Linked DNA regions of Homo sapiens: region 1 is linked to region 2. Evidence: promoter capture Hi-C in 16 types of primary human blood cells and fetal thymus (Javierre and others, 2016). All regions are on one chromosome and are shown on one strand. The core of a region is centred on a gene start or on the middle of the fragment in contact, and the rest is flanking DNA. Distances in the headings are between cores, read along the strand shown. Region 1 has its middle 71 kb from the start of MIR6731. Region 2 holds the start of SYF2 (SYF2 pre-mRNA splicing factor).

The links. The method cuts DNA at HindIII sites, captures the fragments that hold promoters and counts their contacts. A CHiCAGO score of 5 or more calls a contact.
Region 1: a fragment that was not itself captured here is called in contact with the fragment with the promoter of SYF2 in region 2 in 1 of 17 cell types (monocytes); the score reaches 5.1 in monocytes.

Annotation. Positions count from the first base shown.
Region 1 is chr1:24,845,780-24,850,505 of GRCh38, reverse strand. No RefSeq gene overlaps it. Among named protein-coding and RNA genes, the nearest start is that of MIR6731, 71 kb to the left of the region's middle. RefSeq lists silencers at 1,709-1,928, 2,019-2,218 and an enhancer at 2,333-3,057. The HindIII fragment of the contact is 8,180 bases long and covers 1-4,726 here.
Region 2 is chr1:25,228,627-25,233,873 of GRCh38, reverse strand. It overlaps SYF2 (SYF2 pre-mRNA splicing factor), which reads left to right and starts at 1,372. Exons shown (of 7, transcript NM_015484.5): 1 at 1,372-1,430; 2 at 1,663-1,770; 3 at 4,751-4,876. The coding sequence starts at 1,407. It overlaps LOC124903881 (a long non-coding RNA gene), which reads right to left and starts at 1,285. Exons shown (of 2, transcript XR_007065555.1): 1 at 1,195-1,285. RefSeq lists enhancers at 915-1,164, 349-1,262, 1,405-1,554, 5,146-5,247. The HindIII fragment of the contact is 32,676 bases long and covers 1-5,247 here.

The DNA.
Region 1 (4,726 bases), core at 1,002-3,501, 380 kb after region 2:
TCCAGCTTGATGTCATCAAGGTTTCTAAAAAATCTGATAATGCAAGCTGGCTTAGAATTTCAAGTTGAAAGGTAACTTTAGAACACTGCAGATTGAACAACAAAAAATCTCTATTGATAATCAAATCAATACTGTGCACCAGTGATTTGGGCTTCACTTTATGTACATTTTTTAAATTTATTTACATTTTCTGACCAAAAATCAATAAATAGTAAGGGGCAAACTCATGATGCTGGCATAAACCATAGAATTCTTGGAGGATCTGTAAAGATTAGCAGCAATTCCGCAGTAAATTATTTAAGAGATGAGATTAAATCTTTTTTCTTTCTTTCTTTTTTTTTTTGGAGACAGAGTCTCACTCTGTGGTCCAGGCTGAAGCACAGTGAACCTAGTTCACTCCAGCCTTGACCTCTTGAGCTCAAGCGATCCTCCCACTTCAGCCTCCCAAGCAGCTGAGACTACAGTCATGAGCCTCCGTGTCCAGCCTTTAAATCATTTTTTAAAAGCATGTCTACGAAGGAAGGGAATGGAGAGGGCCCTGGGCTTTTCTTCTCTTGCCCCTTCCTTGATTGGAAAACCTCCATTCAGCCACGTGAGAATGAGTCTGCTGGCTTACAGTGACCTCTGCAGACGGCAGGGAGTTGCGTGAACATCTCTGAGCCAAGGAAGGGGAGAGGCCCCTTTTGCCCTCCCTGACCCCTCAAAGTCCCCCCTGCCAAGCAGGACCCTTTTACCCAGAAATGTGGTGCCAATGCACTTGGTGCGTGGTATTGGAACCATTTGGTTCTGCTTGCATTGCGCTCATTAGGCTCCTAAACTTCCTGCTGGAAAAGGCCACTTGGGGTGGCACGTGCCTGTAGTGCCAGCTACTCAGGAGGCTGAGGCAGGAGGATTGCTTGACACTGTTTCTTAAAAAATTAAAGAGAGAGAGAGAGAAGGAGGAGGAGGAGGAGGAGGAGGAGGAGGAGAAGAGGAGGAGGCGGAGAGGAGGAATACACTTGGGTAGCTGGGGAGCTCTGGACAGTTCCACAGCTGGGCTAAGAAATCAGCTTCCCTGAAGGTCACAGTGAGCCAAGATTGCACCACTGCAGTCCAGTCTGGGCAATGGGAGTGAAAGCCTATGAAAAGAAAATAAAAAATAAAAGAGAAAGAGAGAGAGAAAGGAGGGAAGGAGGGAGGGAGGGGGGAGGGGAAAAGAGGGGGGAAGAGGGGAGAAGAGAAGAGAGAAGAGGAGAAGAGGAAAAAAAATCAGCCTCCTCGAGTCTCCTTAAACCCTGCACAGGGGAGGTGACAGCAACCAACCCAGTGCGATGTTAAGCTCTGGAGCCAGATGACCTCTATCAGTTCCTGGTGTGATCTTGGGCAAATTATTTAACCTCTCTAGGTTTAAGTTTCTTTATATAAAACAATGGGGACAAGAATAGTCCCTCCTCTAATAGACTTGAGAATATGAAGAGACTTGAAACATTTTAAAAACTTTAGCACAATAACTGGTACATCGAGTTTAATGACAATTATTATCTGACTGAGGAAATTAGAGAAAGGAAGCACAGGAAGAAACTGAGGTTTATCTATTTCTTATAAGAAATTGGATCAGAAATGTGTCACTGGCTTCCCCAAAGGATGTCCCGAGGCCGTCCCTCCCCGTGGATGGGTGCCGCTTCTTCTGGCGGGGAAGTGAGGCCCGTCCGAGTCAGCAGAGCGGGGACCGCCCCGCCTGGAACCGTGGCCCCTTTTCCTAGTGCCCAGGTGGCCCCTCCCGCGGTCGGCGCTCCGGCCTGTGCCGGGCGTCCAGGAGGGCTCGCTCGGGCTCCCGTGCGCGCTCTCAGAAGCAGGGAACTGGCGCCTGGCGCGGCGGCGGGGACGCTCTCGAGTCCCCAGGCAGTGATCGGGGGCCCCCGGGGGAAGGACGCCGCTCGGGGCCAACCGCAGCGGAGCCCTCGCCCTGCCGCGACCCAACCGCCGCCCAGCCCTGTGGTTCGCGGGCGAAGCGCTTCCTCTAGCTGCCGGTGGCCGGCCGAGAACCAGGGACATGCAGAAGTGCCAGCGTCGAGGCCCACGTGCGACCTGACCTCGCGTGGACATTGGCTGGCTCCGTCACACCCAGACCGCTGGCACTTCCCACCCCACCCCACCTAGGGTGTGAGCGGGTCCCTGCCCTGCCCCGCCGGGGGAGGCGCGGAGGTGTCGGTTCGCAGCGGCGCCGGGGAGCGTCCGTTCGACACAGGAAGGAGGGAAGGAGGCCGGAGGCGCCTTCGCAGCGCGCAGCAGCCCTGACAGATCTGATAAAGAGGAAGGAAGCCGACAACGCTGCTGATCGGGTCTGGCAGCTCCCCAAACTGACGAGGTCCTGCAGCTGTCCCAGCCCTGCTTGCAGAAGTGGCGCCGAAAGGAGGGGAACCGCGGCCCCTGCTGGCCACTTCGGAACCGCACCCGAGTGGTGACAGGAAAGCGAGCAGGGGCTTTAGGGACAAGGCCGGCTGATGCCTCTCGCAGCAGGAGGTGGGGGATGCAGGGCCCCTCTGGGCCCGAGACCTCTACCTCCTGCTTGGTGCGAGAGACCTGCCCCTCAGGACAAACCAACCAAACGTGCTCTTGGCCGGGCGCGGTGGCTCACGCCTGAAATCCCAACAGTTTCGGAGGCTACGACAGGAGGATTGCTTGAGGCCAGGGGCTTGACACCAGCCTGGGCAACAGAGCTAGAATCCTGTCTCTATTTTTATTTATTTATTTTTTTAAAGAATCTATATGTTCCAGCTGGACCTCTGCTTACCTGGCAACCAACTACCTTAGTTGTCAGGGGCCAGGGAGCCAAGTCCACTCTTTTAAGGAGGAAAACAGACACACTTTTAAAGATTGCTGAGCACTATCTGCATATTGCTATATTGCCTAGCTTTGACTGTCATTTACTAGCTGTGGGATTTTGAGCAAGTTTCTTTTCTTATTTAGAGACAGGATCTTGCTCTGTTGCCCAGGCTGGAGTGCAATGGCACAATCATAGTTCACTGCAACCTCGAACTCCTGGGCTCAAGCGATCCTCCTGCCCCAGCCACCCATGTAGCTAGGACCAGAGGCTCTCACAACCTTAATTTTTTTTTTTTTGTAGAGACAGGGTCCTGCTATGTTTCCCAGGCTCTTGAGCAAGTTTCTTAACCTCCACATGCCTCAGTTTCCTCACCCATAAAATGGGAATAATAGTCTCTATCTCATAGGATTGTTAAAGAGACTAAGTTAATATACGTAAAGTGTTTAGAACAGTTCCTGGTGTATAATAAATATGTGTGTTAAATTTAAAACTTTAGATTTTCAGGCAGGATGTGGTGGCTCACGCCTGTAATCCCAGCACTGTGGGAGGCCAAGGCAGGTGGATCACTTGAGGTCAGGAGTTCGAGACCAACCTGGCCAACAGGTTACAATTTTTGTATTTGTAAAAATACAAAAATTAGCCGGGCATGGTGGAGGGCGCCTGTAATCCCAGCAACTAAGGAGGCTGAGGCAGGAAAATCACTTGGACCTGGGAGGCAGAGGCTGCAGTGAGCCAAGATCATGCCACTGCACTCCAGCTTGGGCAGTAGAGTGAGACTCTGTCAAAAAAAAAAAAAAATTCATCATGGGTTGTAGGCTACTGTAAGTAGTTCCTTATTCTGGGGATTTTCTTGGTATCTTTCAACTATTGACTTCTAGTTTAATTCCACTGTGGTCAGAAAACGTATTTTGTATTTCATTCCTTTGAAATTTGTTGAGGCTTGTTTTATGGCTCGGCATAGGGTCTGTTTCACTAAAAGTTCCACATATACCTGAAAAGAATGTACATTCTGCAGTTGTTGGATATAGCATGCCATATGCATCCATTAGGTCAAGTGGTTGTGTTATTCTCTCTTCTGCTATTCCTATGTGTGTACGTATGTGCACACGCACGTGTTTTCCTCCTTGTTCTATCAGTTACTGAGAGCTATGTTAAGAATCTCCAATTATGAGGATGAATTTGACCTCATAATTGCAGACATTTCTCTTTGAGTCAATTTTTATTTAAAGGTGTTATTAGATACACAGAAATGCAGGACTGTTAACATTTTCATAGTGAATGTTCATGATTATCAATGTCCTATATTGTAAAACATCCTTTTTCATCTCCAGTAACACTTCTTGCCTCAAAACCTACTTTGTATGATAGGCACATCTTCTTTCTTTTTATTTACTGTGTCAATGAATTAACTATTCCATTCTTTAATTTCACCCTTCTGGGCCCATATATTTGTCTCTTGTAAATAGCATATATTGGGTTTTGATTTTTTATCCAGTTTGACACTTAACATTGTTCAGCCCATTTACATTTCATAAATTTACTAACAGTGTTGGATTTACAGTTAACCTTTTGCTATTTTTCCAATTTGTCCTATGTTTTGTTCATTTGATCCCCTTGTCCTTTCTTTTGAATTGAATTTTTTTCAACTTCCATTTCCTCCTTAAGTCTTAGATTTTTAAGTTATTTATTCTTGTAGTTCTTTTAGTAGTTACCCTAGAAATTGTGATATTTATCCATGATTTATTATCATTTTCTTAAATTGGTACTTTCATCACTTCCCAAATAACCTAAGAATCTTGCAAGTACTTAACTCCACTTACCTTCCTTCTATCACTATTGTTATATATTTTTTGTATTTTTAGTAGAGTCAGGGTTTCATCATGTTTACCAGGCTGCTCTCAAACTCCTGACCTCAGGTGA
Region 2 (5,247 bases), core at 123-2,622:
GTAATCCCAGCTACTCGGGAAGCTGAGGCAGGAGAATCGTCTGAACCCGGGAGCCGGACGTTGCAGTAAGCCGAGATCGGTGCCACTGCACTCCAGCCTGGGTGATAGTGCAAGACTCTGTCTCAAAACAAAAAAACAAAAAAAAATTACTTTTATTTTTTAATTTAGAGACTGATTCTTACTTTGTTGTCCAGGCTGGTCTTGAACTCCTGGGCTCAAGCAATCCTCCCGCCTCCGCCCCGCAATGTGCTGGGATTGCAGCCATGAACCACCACACCAGGCCAAGGGCAAGACCTGCTTCTTGGAGAAAGTGACAACACCTTAAGCTCTAAATGGAAAGAACTTTCCACTCATGGGAATGAATGGCACTGCAGGTTTTTCCTGCTTACTGCAGACAAAACCAATTCACTGAAAAGTGCTACTGCAGTATACAGTTGTATTAACCTGAGGCTGGCCTCAGGGAAGAAGGGTTACCACTCAAGTAAGTTTTCCTGAAGGGTCAGCTCAGAGGTTAGGGTATTTCATAGTTTGGTGTGGGCAGGGCACTAGGGAATGGATGCTGCTGATTGGTTGGAGATGCAATCACAGGGGTGTGGACTACACTCCTCAACAGCTGAGTCCGCCTCTTGGGGGAGGAGTGGGACAGAAGAAGCGGTTGGGTCATGGGTCACGAGTCTGGGTGGGGTCAGTTAGTTGCCAGAATGCGAAAGTCTGAAAAATGCCTCAAAAGACCAATCTTAGGTGCTACGATAACGTTATCTACAGGAATAATTGGGGAAGTTACACATCCGATGTCCTCCGAAACAATGGCTGGTTATCGTTTACTACATTTTAGCAGAATTCTCCCCTCATAATCCTAACCTCCCGGTCTTTCATTAGTTTTATAAAGGCAGTTTCAGCCCCCAAACAAGGAGGGGCCCTGTTTAAGGAAGGGACTATGATCATCCTTGCTTAAAAGTTAAACTATAAATTCTCCCATGGTTAGCTTGGTTTATGCCCAGGAATGAGCGAAGACAGCCGGCCTGCGAGGCTAGAAGCAAGATGGAGTGAGCCATGTTAGATTTCTCTCACTGTCTTTGCAAAGGCGGTTTCCAGGAACAGCGTGCAGAATAGGGGGCTATCAGGCTCCTTTTGGTCATTTCTTCCTAGCCGTCCGATTCTGAGCTCTTCCCAACCCTTTTCTTGGCGACTTACCTCCCGCTGTCCTGGCCCACGCTACTTTTCGCGGCTGCGCAAGACCCTACGCAATCCAAAATATTTCATAGCTAAAAGGGTCCCAACTTCCGGAGACCTCCCGGAAGGGGCGGGGCTTATGGTAGCCCATTCGTACGTATCGGCCCGTTTGTCTGAAGGTTGACGGAAGTGCTCTATCTTGTTGCCGGAAGTGGGAAGAGAGAAAGGTTGTGATGGCGGCTATAGCTGCATCCGAGGTGAGTTCCACCCACCGTACACCGGGGGTTTTGTTGGTGAGGGTTCCGGGGAGCGGCCTGGAGAGAGGTGGAGGCGAAGTCTAGTTTCGCTTCAGGGAGGCTCAGACACTGTGGGGTCAAGTCGGCGGTGGAGGCCCTAGGCCCAGCCTGTGGGGACCGGCGGGGACTCGGCCTGGGCAGTCCTGGGAGAAGCTGAGCCGGCTCTGCCTGAAGCCAGTTCTCCTTGTCGCAGGTGCTGGTGGACAGCGCGGAGGAGGGGTCCCTCGCTGCGGCGGCGGAGCTGGCCGCTCAGAAGCGCGAACAGAGACTGCGCAAATTCCGGGAGCTGCACCTGATGCGGGTGAGTAGTCTTGGAGGCCGGCTTAGATCCGTCATCTGGCCAAGCCTGTGCGCTTTTGTAGAGGGGACGAGGAAGCCACACCACTGCGTCTGACAGACCAACAGAGCAGGATCATCTGAGAGGAAAGCTCTGTTCGGTGGTACTCAACCCTGGCAGCACATTGGGATCATTCTGAGAACATTTGAAAATATAACTGTTCACTCCAGCCCCTCTCCCACCCACATCCAATTTAATGTATCTGGGTTAGGTTTGGGAGTCTCCATTACTAACAACCTCCCTGCTCCGTGATTCCAACAAATTCTTCATTTTACCTAGGGAAATATGTAGAGCTAGAGACAGGAAGAAACTTGTCTAGTGTCAGTAAGAGACCTGGTTCACTTTAAAAAATAATAATCTTCTGTCAGAATCTGTTTGAGTGAAAAGAAAATAATCATCTGTTTTTGGGACTTCTGGGGGAAAAGAATAAAAAGAAAATAAAAAAAATGGCAAACTTTTGAAAGTCTACAGTGTGGTAGTTCAGCCAGTTGATAGGGAATCTGATGTTTAAGTGCCCTGGAGGTGCAGAGGAGGAGAGAGGAATGCAGTTTGTGGGTCTCCAGGGGGTGCCTCATGTAGTAGGTGACACCTAAACTACTGTTTGAAAGCCAGACAACTAAAGGAGTTAGAGAAAGAGATATCCAAGCAAAGGGAACAAATTCAAAGAAAGAGAATTTGTATTAGGGATAAGAGTCCAGCAAATAGCTTGCTGCAGTTGGAGCAGAGAAAGAGAAAAGCAGCCCCTGTTTCACCATGGAGTGACCTGACAGCTAGGCCATGGTTTCACAAAATCCCAAAATCACTCTGACTGTTGTAGTGAGACAAAACAAAGAAGACTTTTCAAATTACAAGAATGACCACATATTTCTTTCTTCTGACTAACACCAGTGACTGTTATTAACAAATACAGCATTAGTCTCACTCCGTTACTTCTGCCTCCTATATAAAAATGTAAGATACTGGGCCGGGTGCGGTGGCTCACGCCTGTAATCCCAGCACTTTGGGAGGCCGAGGAGGGCGGATCACAAGGTCAGGAGATCAAGACCATCCTGGCTAACACGGTGAAACCCCGTCTCTACTAAAAATAGAAAAAATTAGCCGGGCGTGCTGGCGGGCTACACGGGAGGCTGAGGCAGGAGAATGGCATGAGCCCGAGAGTCGGAGCTTACAGTGAGTCGAGATCACACCACTGCACTCCAGCCTGGGCGACAGAGCGAGACTCCATCTCAAAAAAAAAAAAAAAAAAAATCTAAGATACCTAATTGTAGAAAGCCCCTGCTTTCTGACAGTACCCAATCCACATCCTTAACCCTCCCCTCAGTCACCTGATACAAACCCAAATCCTGGAACAAGCCCTTCCTAACACCCTGTCACTCAAATGCCCACGGTTCCCCGTGGTTTGCTCTCTTCTGTGCAACAGACTCAACTTTGTTGACCGTAGGTATGTTCTTGGCGTCTTTAATTGCAGGGCTTTTCCAGGGCCAAGAATATACTAGGGATGGTAGTTGGGAGGAGTATCTCTCTTTGCCGAGGGAAAGTTAATCTAATAAACAATTAAAAAGACATGCTTAAATATTTAGAGTGATTGTGTAAGGAACACATGTCTGGAAATTAGGAGGCGGGGCTTCCTGGACAAACTGCCACCAGCTTATGACCTAAGGAATGTCTAACTCAAGTTTTCCTTAAGACGATACACTCATTTTGCTTTATGCAATTAAGTTTATTTAAAAATAGACTCTTCTCCCTGCTACCCCAGCTCCAAAAAAAAAAAAAGACTCTTCAATGATACTTCAAATGGAAAATTCCTTTCATTTTTCATTTGTCAATGCAAACTGTGAAAATATTTAAAAGGAGGGGAACTTGGAAAGCATTAGAGGCATTAAGATAGGTTTTAAATCCTCTAACCCAAATTGAGGCTTTTTTCTTGAATTAGGATTAAAAGATAATTGAGGCCTGGTGTGGTGGCACATGCCTGTAATCCCAGCACTTTGGGAGGTCCAGGCGGGCAGATCACTTGAGGCCAGGAGTTTGAGACCAGCCTGGCCAAACTGCAAAACCACGTTTCTACCAAAAATACAAAAAAATAAGCCAGGCATTGTGGCACACGCTTGTAACCCCAGCTACTCGGGAGGCTGAGGCATGAGAATTGTTTGAACCCCAGAGGCGAAAGTTGAAATGAGCTGAGATGGCTCCACTGTACTCCAGCTTGGGTGACAGAGTGAGACTCTGTCTCAAAAAAAAAAAAGAAAGAGTGTCTTTCACATCATGTGACGTAATTTTTTTTTTTTTTTTTGAGATGGAGTCTCGCTCTGTCACCCAGGCTGTAGTGCAGTAGTGCAATCTCAGCTGACTGCAACCTCTGCCTCCTGGGTTCAAGTGAATCTCCTGCCTCAGCCTCCCGAGTAGCTAGGATTACAGGTGTGCACCACCATGCCTCGCTAATTTTTGTATTTTTAGTAGAGACGGGGTTTCACCATGTTGGCCAGCCTGGTCTTGAACTTCTGACCTCAGGTGATCCACCTGCCTCAGCCTCCCAAAGTGCTAGGATTACAAGCGTGATCCACTGCACCTGGCCAATTTAATAGTAATGCCAAATAAAGTCTACTTAAGTGCCACTATAGTATGGTCTCCAATACTGCAAAACCTTGTTCTGATCCAATAAAAAGGGACCACACAACTCAATAGAGGCAAAGCTGATTTTAACCTCCAGGGCTCTGGAACAGCAAACCAGTGCAACTCAACACATTTTTCTTGACTGCATAAAAACGTAGACCCTATTAGGCTATTCCCTGGCTTAAAATCCTGTGATGGCTCTCTATTGCTTTTAGGATAAAATGGGGTCAGCTTATTAATATGTCCTGCCTGACCCTCCTCAAAGAAGGCAAGGTGTATCTGGATTTATTTTCATGTTTTAGCTGACAGACTTCTTGTGTTACGGTTTTAGAATGAAGCTCGTAAATTAAATCACCAGGAAGTTGTGGAAGAAGATAAAAGACTAAAATTACCTGCAAATTGGGAAGCCAAAAAAGCTCGTTTGGAGTGGGAACTAAAGGAAGAGGAAAAGAAAAAGGTTAGGAACTATTCTATCTTCATAAGTGATTTAGTCAATCATTCTGTTGTATCAAGACACTACAACATGGTGGTTGTATACACTGGCTCTTAGGCCAAGCTGCCAGAATTGAAATTCTGGCTCTGCTCAGTACCAACTGCAACACGTTGGGTGAGTTTATTTAACTTCTCTGTACCTCTGTTTTCTCATCAATAAAACAGGGACTGTAACAATAATTATTTGAGTTCATTATGAATTAAGTGAGTTAATGCATGTAAAACATTTAAAACAAGGTCTGACACCTGATAAACACTCAATAAGTATCATGTGCTCACTTATATACCATAGTATATTCCCAAATTTCCTTTAAATGCTATTAAAGTGGCCGGGTG